4 separate regions of the Homo sapiens genome follow, and all the other regions are linked to region 4. Evidence: promoter capture Hi-C in human tissues and cell types (Jung and others, 2019). All regions are on one chromosome and are shown on one strand. The core of a region is centred on a gene start or on the middle of the fragment in contact, and the rest is flanking DNA. Distances in the headings are between cores, read along the strand shown. Region 1 holds the start of NDUFB10 (NADH:ubiquinone oxidoreductase subunit B10). Region 2 holds the start of CASKIN1 (CASK interacting protein 1). Region 3 holds the start of MAPK8IP3 (mitogen-activated protein kinase 8 interacting protein 3). Region 4 holds the start of WDR90 (WD repeat domain 90).

What was found. The method cuts DNA at HindIII sites, captures the fragments that hold promoters and counts their contacts. A contact is called where the count stands out against the background at its distance.
Region 1: the fragment with the promoter of NDUFB10 here is called in contact with the fragment with the promoter of WDR90 in region 4 in 1 of the 25 tissues and cell types used here (lymphoblastoid cells).
Region 2: a contact is called between the fragment with the promoter of CASKIN1 here and the fragment with the promoter of WDR90 in region 4, in 1 of the 25 tissues and cell types used here (lymphoblastoid cells).
Region 3: the fragment with the promoter of MAPK8IP3 here is called in contact with the fragment with the promoter of WDR90 in region 4 in 1 of the 25 tissues and cell types used here (spleen).

The regions. Positions count from the first base shown.
Region 1 is chr16:1,958,240-1,960,787 of GRCh38, reverse strand. NDUFB10 (NADH:ubiquinone oxidoreductase subunit B10) reads right to left here and starts at 1,250. Exons shown (of 4, transcript NM_004548.3): 1 at 1,034-1,250. The coding sequence starts at 1,163. RefSeq lists silencers at 621-730, 1,161-1,470 and an enhancer at 2,193-2,548. The HindIII fragment of the contact is 2,906 bases long and covers 1-2,283 here.
Region 2 is chr16:2,194,996-2,198,797 of GRCh38, reverse strand. CASKIN1 (CASK interacting protein 1) reads left to right here and starts at 2,193. Exons shown (of 20, transcript NM_020764.4): 1 at 2,193-2,459. The coding sequence starts at 2,366. The HindIII fragment of the contact is 36,898 bases long and covers 1-3,802 here.
Region 3 is chr16:1,704,368-1,707,934 of GRCh38, reverse strand. It overlaps MAPK8IP3 (mitogen-activated protein kinase 8 interacting protein 3), which reads right to left and starts at 1,740. Exons shown (of 32, transcript NM_001318852.2): 1 at 1,278-1,740. The coding sequence starts at 1,595. RefSeq lists silencers at 1,197-1,246, 1,267-1,376, 1,647-1,986, 2,893-3,187 and an enhancer at 1,545-2,409. The HindIII fragment of the contact is 16,634 bases long and covers 1-3,567 here.
Region 4 is chr16:647,465-650,996 of GRCh38, reverse strand. It overlaps WDR90 (WD repeat domain 90), which reads right to left and starts at 1,632. Exons shown (of 41, transcript NM_145294.5): 1 at 1,571-1,632; 2 at 1,143-1,234; 3 at 830-1,006; 4 at 635-743; 5 at 288-458; 6 at 1-2. The coding sequence starts at 1,580. MCRIP2 (MAPK regulated corepressor interacting protein 2) reads right to left here. Exons shown (of 5, transcript NM_138418.4): 3 at 3,453-3,532; 4 at 3,113-3,214; 5 at 2,523-2,877. The coding sequence ends at 2,807. It overlaps LOC105371038 (a long non-coding RNA gene), which reads left to right and starts at 1,684. Exons shown (of 2, transcript NR_135177.1): 1 at 1,684-2,042; 2 at 2,382-2,539. RefSeq lists silencers at 1,258-1,387, 1,498-1,597 and enhancers at 773-1,595, 3,018-3,067. The HindIII fragment of the contact is 7,525 bases long and covers 1-3,532 here.

The sequences.
Region 1 (2,548 bases), core at 1-2,500, 1.3 Mb before region 4:
GGCTCCAACAGGGAGCCTCCAGCAAGCAGAACTTACCACCTTACGGCCTCAGCTTCCTCACTGGGAAATGAACGAGCTAAAAGGAGAGCTCGAACATCCAGACACATAGGACAGACATGCTCTACAACTGCTACAAAAGAGAGGGAGCTGGGTCCGCTGTTGCACGGTTTCCAGATCTTTGGGGGTTTGATTTGGAGACTTCACCCTCTTACGGAAGAACCACCAGAGCATGCTATGCACCCCAAGTGTTCAAAAAGAACTGAACCAGGCTGGACACGGTGGCTCAGGCCTGTAATCCCAGCACCTGGGGGCCAAGGTGGGAGGATCACCTGAGGTCAGGAGTTCGAGACCAGCCTGGCCAACATGGTGAAACCCCGTGTCTACTAAAAATATAAAAATTAGCTGGGCGTGGTGGTGGTGCGCCTGTAATCCTAGTACTGGGGAGGCTGAGGCAGGAGAATCGCTTGAACCCGGGGTGGGGCAGAGGTTGCAGTGAGCCGAGATCGCGCCACTGCACTCCAGCCTGGGCAACAGAGTGAGACTGTCTCAGGAAAAAAAAAAACAACAAAAACTGAACTGGGCATTTTCCCGGTTCGTTCCAGAGATGCTGAATTTGGGCATCTCGGCCATCACCCCGACACTTGGTCATCCGGCAGAGAGACATTTGAGAGAGGCCTGAGGCCAGCGGTGCAGTGGAGGGGTGCCCGGGGCGGCGGGGGGCGGAGAGCAGTGCGGGGTCCTGGGGCAGTGGGCGCTGGGTGCGGCAGGGAGGGAAGAGTCCTGGGAAGAAGCGGGGCATCCCGGGGTGCAGGGGAGAGTAAGGGATCCTGGGAGGTGAGGTCCGGGGTGCAGTGGGAGGCCAAAGGAGGCGACGGAGCTCGGAGGTCTCCGGGGGTGGGGAGTTGTCCCCGGGGTGCAGCGGGGGGCGGTCTCAGGCAGACGGGACCCCGGAGGCATTGGAGGATCCAGGCAGGGTGTGGGATCCAGGGGTCCCCAGAGGCCGGCGAGGGAGCCCCGGGCTGGGGCTTCGTACCTCTCACGAGGGTCACGGGTCGGTCCACGATGAGGTCGAACGCTTTCATCATGTAGACGATGGGATTGGGCTGCACCGGCGTGCGGCGCGGGGGCTCAGGGTACACATCCTTGTCCCAGCTGTCCGGCATGGCGGCGGCGGGCGCGGACTCCGCTCCCGGACGCGCTGCCCTGGCCTCTACCTCCGTCCGGGTCCCGCGGCCTAGGTCGCCCGCTACAGAGGACGCCGAGGGCGGCTGCGTCTGCGCGCTGGCGCCGCGATGCACCATGGGACTTGTAGTTCCCCGGCTCCGCCGGGCGCGGCCGGGACCCGCCTCGCCGCAGGGCGCCCCCGCGTGGGGCCTCCGTTCTCGGTCTGTGCCGAGCGCCTACGCGGTGCTGGTCGCTGGTCTGGGCGCCTGGGAAGCAGCCGCGAACCGGACAGATTCCTGCTTACGATGAAAGAAACAGACAAAAGGCAACTGACATAAGGAATAGGAGGGGGTCATTCGGTTCCCACTGCGCGCCAGGCACTGTGCTGAGTGCAGCAGGGAATAAGATAAACTGTGATGGAGAACACAGGCCGTTAGAGCGCACACGACAAAGTGAACAAATAGCACGCGATTCCAAACACCCTACTCCTCCAGGAAGCTTTCCTGGATTGCCTAGTCCCTACAGACTTCTCTGGGCCCCGCTCTCTACAAGGGCCCCTCATGGACTGGCTGGTGCCAGTTAACTTGGGAGCCTGTCTGGGGGAGGGCAGGGAGCAGACCAGGAGGCAGGGCTTGCCCTTAGGCGGCTCATAGGGAGAAGGCACCTACCCTGGGCACAGGGCCCTCTGGCCGGCTTTGATGGTTCCATCCTGGCCCTGGGGCACTCTGGTGCTTCTAGGCAGCTCCACTGAGCAGGGTCCTGCTGGCCACATCTTCAGTCTCCACACCTGGCACGGCCCCTGGCTGCTATCCAGGGGGGACACTGGTCATGTCCTGTCCTGAGGTTGAGGCCAGCGACACAGAACCATCAACCCTACAGACAAACAGTGAGAGGTGACAGCGTGCTGGCAGTCCTCAGAGCCCTCGCTCGCTCTCGGCGCCTCCTCTGCCTGGGCTCCCACTTTGGCGGCACTTGAGGAGCCCCTTTCTGGGCTGGCCAAGGCCAGAGCGGGCTCCCTCAGCTTGCGGGGAGGTGTGGAGGGAGAGGCGCAGGCGGGAACCGGGGCTGCGCGCGGTGCTTTGCGGGCCAGCGCGAATTCCAGGTGGGTGTGGGCTCGGCGGGCCCCGCACTCGGAGAGCCTGGCCGGCCCTGCCGGCCCTGGGCAATGAGGGGCTTAGCACCCGGGCCAGCGGCTGCGGAGGGTGTGCTGGGTCCCCCAGCAGGCCGGCCCACCGGCGCTGCGCTCGATTTCTCTCGCCAGGCCTTAGCTGCCTCCCCGCGGGGCAGGGCTCGGGACCTACAGCCCGCCATGCCTGAGCCTCCCCCACTCCGTGGGCTCCTGTGCGGCCCGAACCTCCCCGACGAGCGCCGCCCCCTGCTCCAG
Region 2 (3,802 bases), core at 944-3,443, 1.5 Mb before region 4:
TCAAGGTAGGAGAATAGAACATACTTAACAGGTGACTGGCGTGATTTGTAGCGTTTAAATATTTGAACATTTGGTGTGTGGGCTTCTGTTTGTGTGTTAAGCACAGGTCAGGGTGGTTTGCCTTAACATGTCCAAAACATAAAAGTAATAGTAATGCCAGCAGCTATCTTATTTTTATTTTTAGTTCTTCCTATGTGCTCTTCACACTGCAAGGTAGCGTAGATACAAAGATGCACAAAACACAGTTGCTGCACAGGCAGAGAGGCCCAAGAATATCACAATATCTACAGCAGCCATTTTTTTGAGCACTTACTAAGTCCTGCCGTGAAATGCTTTGTGGATAGTATCACAATTTATCCTCCAGTAACCTAAGGGGAGGTAGCATGCATATCCTCATTTTACAGAGGGGCACAGACACTTAGGCAGTGGGCTGGGTGTGGTAGCTCACGTCTGCAATCCCAGCACTTTGGGAGGTTGAGGTGGGAGGACTGCTTGAGGCCAGGAGTTCGAGACCAGTCTAGGTAACATACTGAGACCTCATCTCTATTAAAAATCAAAAAAAATTAGCCGGGCGCTACTCAGGAGGCTGAGGCGGGAGGACTGCTTGAGCCTGGGATGTTGAGGCTGCAGTGAGCTATGATGGCGTCACTGCACCCCAGCCTGGACGACAGAGCGAGACCCTGTCTCAGAAAAAAGAATGACAAAGTGACCAGCTCATGGTCACAAACCACTAAGAGGGGGAATAGGACACATCCAGAGGTGCGGGTGCAAAGCCCAGACTTACAACCTCAAGACTCTGGGACCCCAGGTGAGCCCCTTGGCTTCTCTGAGCCTCAGTTTCTTCATCTGTAAAATGGGGACAGTGAGTCCAACCTCATCTAGGAGGTGACCAGCACAGTGCCTGACCCAGCGGGTACTCAACTGGTCATTGGAAAGGGCAAGAGGAAAGGCCCTAGCATTTGGGGACCCCTCCCAGGAGTGCTGGAAGACCAAGGGCTGCTACCTGAACCTAACAGGAGACCCCACGGAGGGAACGGGAACGGCCAGCTGCCCACAGGATGCCGGGACCCCGGTGCCTGTCACCTTCCCTGTCCCTGCTGTCTGACCTCCTCTGTCCCCCTGGACCTGCTCAATGGTCTGGGGCCACACAGAGTGGGGTGCCAGGCCATGCCTCATAGAATGGGTGCGACCCTCCCCAAATTCTCCAAACGGCCTTGCCCGCTTGGGTGATGAGGGAAACGGAGCCTGAGTCGGGACTCAGACCCCCACTGATCTGCCTCTAGAATGCTGCAGGCCTGACGGGAGAGGGCCTGAGGCGCAGGGTGGCCCAAGCCTTCAGCCAGGAGCTCAGAGGGTCACAAGTCGGGGCCTCCAGCACCCAGGAAGCAGGACTCGCCTGCCTGGGCTGCAGGCTGGAGAGTGGGCAGACGTGGGCCGGGGGTCGGTTGGTGCCGGCGGGAGGTTCCAGCCCCTGTGGATGGAGATGGAGGCGACCCCCAGTCGGTGCGGGGAGTGGGGAGTTGAGCTCCCTCAGTGGGGGTGGTGGGGGCTACCTTGGGGTCAGGCTTCGGACTGAGGCTGGGGGAAGCTGTGGCGCCCGCATTATTTGCGGAGAGGAGCAGGAGGATGCTTGGGGGTTGGGGGTGCGGGTTCCCTGACACCGAATTCATTATTGGGAGATTCCTCTTCACAATCCCTCGACACCTCCCACGGGAACCCTGGGCCAGGAACGCCTGACAGCCTGGCGGGCCGGCTCCAGGGGCACTGGCGCCCGGGTCTCTCGGCGCCCGGTCCCCGCCCGCCCGCTGCCTCGGAACCGTCCCCCGCGGGTCCCGCAGCCTCTGGAAGCCTCTCTGGGCTCAGCCCCGCGCCGCCGCCGCGTCGGGGCTCCCAGTGCACCCCCGGCGGCCGCGTCCCCAGCCCGGCTAGCAGCCCCAGGCCGCCCGCGTCCGCAGAGGCCTGGCCTGAGCGCGCTGCGCGCACGTGGGGAGGGGGCGTCCCGGGGCGGGCGCGGGGAGGGCGGAGCCACGGGCCCGGGCGCGCGGCCGGCGCGGGCTGACGGAGGTCGGCGGCCCGGGAGCGGACCCCGGCGTCCGGGAGGCGGCGCCAGGTGCCGCGCCCCCGCCCCGCGCCCGCCGCGCGCCCCCGCCCCCGGGCCGCCCCCCGCCCGTGACGCGCTCCCCGCCCCCTCCGCGCCGGGAGCCCGAGCCCAAGCCGGAGCCCGAGGAGGGCGAAGGGGCGGCGGGCGGCGAGGAGGCGGCGGGGGAGGCGGCGGGGGAGGCGGCCGGTGCCGCGGGGCCGCCGCCGCCTCTGAGCCGCGCCGAGCTCACGAGCGCAGCCGCGTCGCTGCGGCCCCGGCCGCGCCATGGGGAAGGAGCAGGAGCTGGTGCAGGCGGTGAAGGCGGAGGACGTAGGGACCGCGCAGAGGCTGCTGCAGAGGCCGCGGCCCGGGAAGGCCAGTGAGTGCCGGGGGCGCGGGGCGCGGGTGGGAGCCCCGGGGGCCCCTCCCCGGCGCGGAGCCCCCCACCCGGCGCCGGGCGGGGAGGGGACGTTGTCGGGTCCCCGGGGGCGGGGCGGGGCCAGCAGCGCCCAGACCCTTGGTCCGTGCCCTCCACCCGCTGCCCCCAGCACTGGAGATGGGGCGGCCCCGAGAGCCGGCCGCCACCGTGAGCCCCGCAGCGGGCACCTGGCGGCACCCGCCTCCCGGGCCGCGGGCGTTCGCATCCCTCTCTCTCTACCTCTGTCCCCCTCCCTTCCCAGGCTGCGGGCTGACAGCTGGAGGTCTCTGCTGGGGCCTTCAAAGGGCGAGGCGGATGCCCCCCCCACCCACCACACGCACCGGGAAGACAGGGAGGGGGCCCCTGCGGCGAGGGGCGACCCGGGAGGTGACAGTCCCTAGCAGACCCCCTCCCGCCCCACGTTTAATAACACGCTTTGCAGGGAAGGTGGGGGCAGGACCACGCTGGGGGTGTGGCTGCCCTGGCATGGCCGGTGGGGTGCCATTTACTGATGGGAGAGCAGAGGCCCAAGGTCGCCCAGCCCAGGGCAGGCTGGACTCCAGGCAGGGCCGGCCTGGGCGCAAGGGCTTGGGGCCCTGCTCAGGCAGGCTCCAGCAGAGCCGGGTCTCCAGCTTCCCTGCTGGGAAAGGAGGCCATGAGGGAGTGGGGGACCACCACTGGCCATCCCCAGCTTGCCCTATGGCCGGCCCCAGGAAAGGGCTGGGAGCTTGGAGCCCTGGTCCCAGCACTCATCCTGGCTCAGCGCGTAGCCTCCCTGGGGGCCGCCGGAGATGGATGGATGGGCGTGTGGACCAGCCGCGTGTGCGGCTGCGCACGTATAGCCGTGTCAGTGTGTCAGGGCACCTGTGCGGGCACGGACAGGGCTCTGCAGGTCGGCACGTGGGGTCTGGGCGTCCTCCCTCCTCCCTCCACCCCCACAGACTGTAAGCCAGAGAGTCCCCCTCCCCTTCCTCCAGGGGGATGCCGAGAACTGGGACTGGCTTCTGGGAGATTGTTGGGGGCACCTAGGAGTCCCAGGAGGACCCCCTCCCCCGTACTTCACCAGCAGCCCATGACTGGCTAGCTCCTGTCCACTCTGTGCAGTAAGAGAGAGGGGGCACCGGTGCCTTGCAGGCTGGCCCCGAGCTGATTTCAGGTCCGGGGGCTCAGAAAGGGAGAGCTTGTGGGCAGAGGCAGCCTCAGCTGAGCCTGGAGAGCAGGTGTAGGGATTGAGGGAAGGCAAGGTAAAGGTTTCCACCTAGTGGCCGCATGACCTTGGACACAGACAACTCCAGCTCAGTGGA
Region 3 (3,567 bases), core at 491-2,990, 1.1 Mb before region 4:
AGGCCATAAATCACCTTGGTTTCAGAAAAAGCCAAAATACTGACACAATCTTTTATTTTCCTATTAAAGTCAAGAATGTGTTAAGCCGAATTAATTGAAAAGGAATTGAAGCTCATTTCCTAAGACACTTCTATTCATAAGTCAAACAGCATTACCTAACTCCTAGAATGAGAGAATTTCTGGGCTTGGAGATCGCCTAGTGCAATTCACTCCTTTGATGGAAAATCGAACCCCAGGCAGGCGACAGGCCAAGGTCACAGAGGCAAAGCAGGGATGGGAACCAGCCTCCCTGAACCTGTTTCTGACAAAGGGCGAGGTTCTGGGCCCACACACAGGCAGGCCGAGCTCAGTATCTGACGGTGAATGAATGAAGCTAAGTGGTGCTCCCCACAGGGCCCGGCTCTTGTAACTGCTTCACAGACAAGCGATTTCCAGGTTATGGAGACATCCTAGCACAGAATTAAACGCTTCAAACTCAGACTGTTAACTCCTCAGAAGCCAGAGTGGAGTTTCTCAGCCCTGGCTACATCAGCTAACAATCTCGCCAAGCAAGGAACCAAGGGGGCAAAGACATCACCTCCAGAAACTCGAGTGTTCCTTCTGCTGACAGAGGAGCAGCCCGCCTGCGGCCTTGTTCTGTGTTTACATCAACCACCCAATTCACCCGTGTCACAGACCTTCAAAATACGGGATTAGGGACAAGGGAAAGGTCTCCAACATCATCCACAGACGGCTGCAGCCCCCTAAGAACACCAAAAGATTCCTTTTCTAGATGGGTTTAGAATGGCAGCCAACAGAGGTAGCACTTGGGGTCGGGAAACGGTTTTGACTGAACACACGCACGAAAGCAAAGGCAATTGTCATGCAGAGGTGGGTGGGGAGGGGAGAGTGAGGCCTGGCTTTGAAGCTGAGCTCCCCGGGGATGACGCCAGGCACATCGGGTTTGGGGCTGAAGATTCAGGGCTGGGGGCACGGAGGAGGGGGCCAGGGCCCAGGCCTGGGCGGAAAAGGGGGTCCCCGGGAGTCGGGGTGGGGTCCCGGGGCAGGCGGGGGAGTGCTCTAGGGAGGTGTCTCACGGCGGGCAGAGGGGGTGGGGAAGTCCCGGGGCGGGGGATATGGGGTCCAGGCGGGTCTCGGGGCGGGGTCTGGGGGTCCAGGGGTCCCGCGGTCCGGGGTGCCGGAGCGGGGTCTGGGGTCGGGACGGGTGTTGGGTCCGGGGCCCGGGGCTGGCTGGGGGTCCGGGACGGGGATGCGGGCGGGTCCCGCGGCCCACGCACCTCCTCCGCCTGCCTGCGCAGCGCCTTCTCACGCTCGTACTGGGTGAGCAGCTGCTCGTTGTCCTCGCGCAGCAGCTCCAGCTCCACCTCGTGCTCCTGGTTCTCGCTGAGCACCGAGTCTAGGTTCTCCAGCACGTTCACCACCAGCGGCATGAGCTCCTTGACCACCTCCTCGTCGTAGCAGTGGATGAGGCGCTCGAACTCGCGGTAGATGGAGCCCGCCAGGCCCGACACCCGCTCCGACATCACCGAGCCGGAGCAGTAGTCGTCCTGGTACACCACCACGCCGCCGCCCTCGTCCATCTGGATCTCCATCATCGCGGCCACCGCCGCCGCCAGCGCGGCTCGCTATCCGGCCGGCGCGCCCGGCCCTCCCCAGCTGCCTCAGGTTCCGCAGGCCGCAGCCCGTCGCCTCCCGCAGCTGCTGTCGCCTCAGGGCTCCGCCGCCGCCGCTGCCGAGGCTGCGCCCGTCACTCACTCACCGGAAGTCCCGCCCTCCAGCCGGAGGGGGCGGTGCCCGCGCGTCCCGCCGCAGCCGCGCCGCCAGGGGGCGCAGGGGCCGTGACGTCAGAGGAAGCCGGGCTTCGGGCCGGAAGCGCGGGTGAGCCGGGCAGAGGGAGCTCCCGGCCAGGCCGGTGGGATCCGCGGGGCGGCAGTGGTCGCTTCCCCCAGCGCGCTGTAGCTTGATCATGTCCCCGCAACCGTGGGCTTCCGGTGACCTCGATCCCGTCTCCAGGCTCTGCACACTTCGGCGGACTTAGGTGAAGGCTCAGCGCCTGCGCCTCAATCCCGGCCGCCCTGATGAGCCTCCGTTCCCTACAGCACCGCGCCCCGCTCAGTGCCTCCCCTCTCCTGATGCCTTCCCCGCTCAGCTGGCTCCTCCCGGGATTCTGTGAATGCACCCTCAACGCCCATCTCATCCTGAAACCCAGCAGCGTGGCCTCCTTCCTTTCGCCCACTTCTCCCTACTGCACTGACTGCTTCAGATTTTCTTTTTTTTTTTTTTTTTTGAGATGGAGTCTTGCTCTGTCGCCCAGGCTGGAGTGCGGTGGCGCGATCCTGGCTCACTGCAAGCTCCGCCTTCTGGGTTCAAGTGATTCTTCTCCCTCAGCCTCCGGAGTAGCTGGGATTACAGACCAGCTAATTTTGTATTTTTAGTAGAGACGGGGTTTCGCCATGTTGGCCAGGCTGGTCTCAAATTTCTGATCTCAAGTGATCCGCCCGCCTCGACCTCCCAGAGTGCTGGGATGACAGGCGTGAGCCACCGCGCCAGTCCAGATTTTCGGTTACTTTTCAGCTACGTGCAATCTGTTTAACCCATCCACTGGGTTATTAATTGCACCGATTTTTTTTTTTTTGAGACGGTGTTTCGCTCTTGTCGCCCAGGCTGGAGTGTGATGGCGCGATCTCGGCTCACTGCAACCTTCGCCTCCTGGGTCCAAGCGATTCTCCTGCCTCAGCCTCCTGAGTAGCTGGGACTACAGACACGCGCTATTAACGCCCGGCTCATTTTTTTGTATTTTTAGTAGAGACGGGGTTTCACCATGTTGGCCAGGCTGGTCTTGAACTGCTGACCTCAAGTGATCCACCCGCCTCCCTCGGCGTCCCAAAGTGCTGGGATTACAGGCGTGAGCCACTGCACCCTGCCAATGATTCTGTTTTTGTCCTATTTGATTTCTTATATTCTAGCAGTTTTAATAGGCTCTTATACTTCCAACCACATATTTATCTTTAAGCGTTGGGTGTGCCTCATAACTACAGTATCTGCAGCCCTTGCAGGTCTGATTCTGCATGTCATCCTGGTTGACTCTTGGCCCAGGGTCCCCTTTCCCCCATTCTGAGCCAGTGTCCCCAGGACTTTTGTCTCTGGAAGTACTTGAGGCCTGAACTTAAAATGTGTTGCTCCGTAAGATTTGCACTTTATTTTGCTGGGCAGGGGACACCATGAACCCAAGACTTTGAAACTCAATTTGGGAGCCACACATGTATTGTGAATCCTGATGAAACCACATCAGTGACTATTTAATGCTAATAGAAATGGCCACTTACCGTCTTTCACCTACTGCAATGCTCATCAGTTCAGATCCTCTCATCCTAATCTGATTGCACCGAAACAGTAACTCCCGTAGCTGACACCCTACTGATTTTTTTTGTTGTTCAGTTTTTAGAGGCAGGGTCTCACCCTGTTGCTCAGGCTGGAGGCACTGGCATGATCAGGGCTCACTTGAACTCTTAGGCTCAAGTGATCCCACCTCAGCCTCCTAAGTAGTTGGGTCTACAGGTGTAAGCC
Region 4 (3,532 bases), core at 383-2,882:
GGCTACAAGGAGCAGGGTTGTTCCAGGTCAAGGGAGGCTGTTTAGCCACCTGAACACAGGGCACCCGCCAAGGCACTGCCACGCCACCAGCCCAGCCACCGCCCCACCCCAGGGCTGCCTCTGGGATGGGTTCTGACCCCAGGGCTGCCTCTGGGATGGGTTCTGGCCAGAGCTCAGAGACAGCACAGCTCGAGCACTGTATTTTCCCAAGCACCCTGGACTTGGGCCTCTCCAGGGCTGAGAGCATGGGTGAGATATGGAGTGGGGAGTGCAGGTGCGGCCCTCACCAGGCTCAAAGCACAGGTCACTGGTGTACAGGTTCCTGACCAGCAGGCTGGCGCACAGCCTGATGCTCTTGAGATGGCCGTAGCACCGGTTCAGGTAGACCAGGAGAACGTCCTGCAGATCGAGCTGCAGGCAGGTCCAGCGGGCTCCGGAGGGGGCCAAACCCACCAGATCTGCAGGATGGGCACTCAGGGTCAGCGCCCACCCTCCTGACAGCCCGCGACTCCCAGAACTGTGAGCTTGTGCCCCCGCCAGGTTGTCCTCCAGGCCGCAGAGGAGCCTCACTGGGCCTGCACCAACTCCCTCCAGCCACCTGTCCTGGATCATCCACACCCCATCTTGGTGTCACCTCTCTGAGGTGTCCTGGCCTCCAGGACCAAGGGAAACTGGAGCCACGTGGCCGTAGACTTAAACTCCTTGAAGAGGTTGGAGAAAGACACACGGATGACTTGGTTGTCCTGTGGGGACGGAGCAGGGCCGTGAGGAGACAGGGGCCGCAGGGGTGCCGGGGCTCCCACGCAGCCCCCAGCCGCGGGCTCCGTACCTTGGAGGACACATCGAGGTGGATGACGAAGTGCTTGCTGGGCAGGGGCCGAAAGAGCACATACAGGTATCGTCCCGTCAGCCCCAGAGACTGGGTGCTGCTCTTAGGGAGCTGGATGTAGTTGGCGGCAGAGACTGAGCCCCGAATGCGATACACGGCGCCCTTCAGGGTCTTGTCCTGGAGAAGCGGGAGCCCGCATCACCGACAGCACCCAGAAGAAGTGCAGCGGGGGCGAGGGGGCCCTCGGGGGCGGGGCAGCTCTCCTGGGGGCAGGGCAGGGGTGTGGGCTCCGGGCGAGCCCCCGGCCGCCTACCGTGACCACGGCCACGTCCCCCTGCTTGGCGGAGCGCTTCCACTCGTCCACCCGGAAGTGTCTGAAGACGTTGAGGAACGGGTGCTGCCACGCTGCGGGGAGCGGGCGCCGGGCGTCAGGGGACTCGGCCACGCGAGCCGGGGCCACTGCGGGGCTGGGCCGGGCCTCGGGGACCAGGCAGGAGCCGGGGCTCTCCGCGCCTTCCCCGGCGACGCCAACGCCAGCTAGGCTGGCGGGACGAGGCCGGGCGCCCGAGGGAAGCCAAGCTCCGGGAGCCCGAGGGTGGGCGCCCGGCAGACGGGACCCTGCCTGAGCGGGGACTCTGGCCTCAGGGCCTAGGCGGGGGCCCTGAGCGCTCCGGCCGCCGACCCTGGACCCCGGAACCCCGGAACCCGGGATCCTCGGGACCCCCGCCAGCCGCGCGCTACCTCGGGCCATGGCGCCGCCGCTCGAGCTTCCCGCCTAGGCCTCCGCGCGCCCAGCGCAGAGTACGCCCCGCGACGCCAGGCAACGGCTGCCTGGCAACGGTGCCACTTCCGCCATTACTTCCGCCGTCATGGCGGCGCCCTGGCCACGTGACCTCCCCGGTGGGAGTACCCCGCTCACGTCAGCGGCCTCCAGGGTTGCTCCAGCCGCGAATCCCGCTGCCCTTTGCCCCGCGGGCCTCCCAAGGCAGCCCCCTGTTAGCCCGACCGGCTTCGAAGCCCGCGCCGGTTGCGGATCCTCCGCCGCGCCCACCTGTCAGCGCCTCGGCCGGCCGGGGCTCCCGCCGCATGCAAGCAGCGAGGCGAGGTCGCGCTGAGGCCTGGCCATGCCACGGACGGCCGGGCCTCACCCTGCCGCTCTCTCGCCGTCCAGAGGCCCCTGCTCCACACCTGGGTACCCTGGGTCCTGACTCAGGTGGGCTGGGTCATCCCCGTCCATCAGGGAAGGTAGTGCGGGCGCCCGCGGAGGGGCTGGTTCCCACGTTCGTCCTATCAGGTTCCCCACGTACTCCTTCGCCCAGTGTCCTGCGGCCGGGCCCGGCGGATTCAGAATGGGACCTGGCGTTCTGAGACACAGCCCCAGTGCCGGTAGTGGGGGGTGGTGGACTGCACTCCGGGGCCATTTAATGTCTTTAGGCCTTGAGTCTCGGCTTCGGTCCCAGTCAACGCCAACGGGAGAGGAAAGAGGAACCAAGTGGGGTCCCCAGACTTCCAAGCAAGGTGGGCTGGCTAACGTCCCTCCTACCTGTCGCAGGGCAGCTGGGTGAGAAGCTAACGGCTTGAAGGAACAGGGCTACAAGGGGAGTTTGTGCTGGGCCTGGCGTCCCAGGCTGTGGACTGGAACTGGACATGAGAACCCCCCCTACACCCTCCCAAGTCAAAGACACTCCAAAAAGACAGTTTCTCCACTTTATTAGCCTGGAGCTCCTCCCTGCCAGCCCCAGGGGCTGGTCGCTGGTCCCTGGGCACAGTGAGCAGGGCTGAGGTCAGACGGGTTCGGCCCTTGGCCATGGCAGCTTGGTTGGGACAGCCGGGCCAAGGGAAAAAAAGGTGCAAAAGTCCAAATGCTGGCACTTCAGGTGTGGCCGGCACCCAGCCAGGCGCAGTGGGTGGGCAGGGCGCCATGCTTCTCTCCTGGCGACAGGTCGGCCGTGTAGCAGCGCCCCCTCCCAGCAGCCACTAGGAACAGCTGGTGATTCTCGCCAGGAACTGCTGCGCCCACCACTCGTCTAGGTCAATGGGCACAAAGTCTGTGGGCAGAGAAGGCTGGGCAGTGATGCTGCCTCCCAGGCCAGCCGGCAAGTCTCCCCTGGAGCTAACCACAAGCCGCTCACCCGGACTCCGAGTGCGGCAGGCGCTGGGAAGAAGGGGTTTCTGCACAAGAGTCCCCTCCCTCATCCCCTGGGGTGGGAACCTGGCAGGGCCTGGGTCAGGATCAGAGGGGCTGGGGGGTCTCTCCTGGGGGGACAGGGTTGGGGGGCTCACTCTGCAGCCGGGGATTGGGGGTCCTCTCCACGTACTGCACAGGCCTTGGCCCGCCCTCACCGGCTGGGCCACCATCCAGCTGCTGTTGCACCTGCTGCCAGGCTGTGGGAGGAGGGCAGTCGGGCTGAGCCAGGTCCCAGGCACCCCATCGCCCACCCAGGGCCTGATGGTCACCCTGGACTCCAGCCCCACACAGGGCTGGTCACAGGACACAAGGGCAGAGTGCCAAGGAAAAGCACAGCCATGCAGCGGCTGTGGGTCAGCTTGAAGTGGGGCCATCCCGGGTCCATGGTTTTGCGACCCAGCAGCCTATGCCGCACCCTCTGGCCCCGCTCGCTACCTTCGGACACAAAGCGGACATTCTCCTCGTGGGCCACTGTGTAGGTCTCCTGGGTCCCCTCGAAGGATGGGGACGTGGAG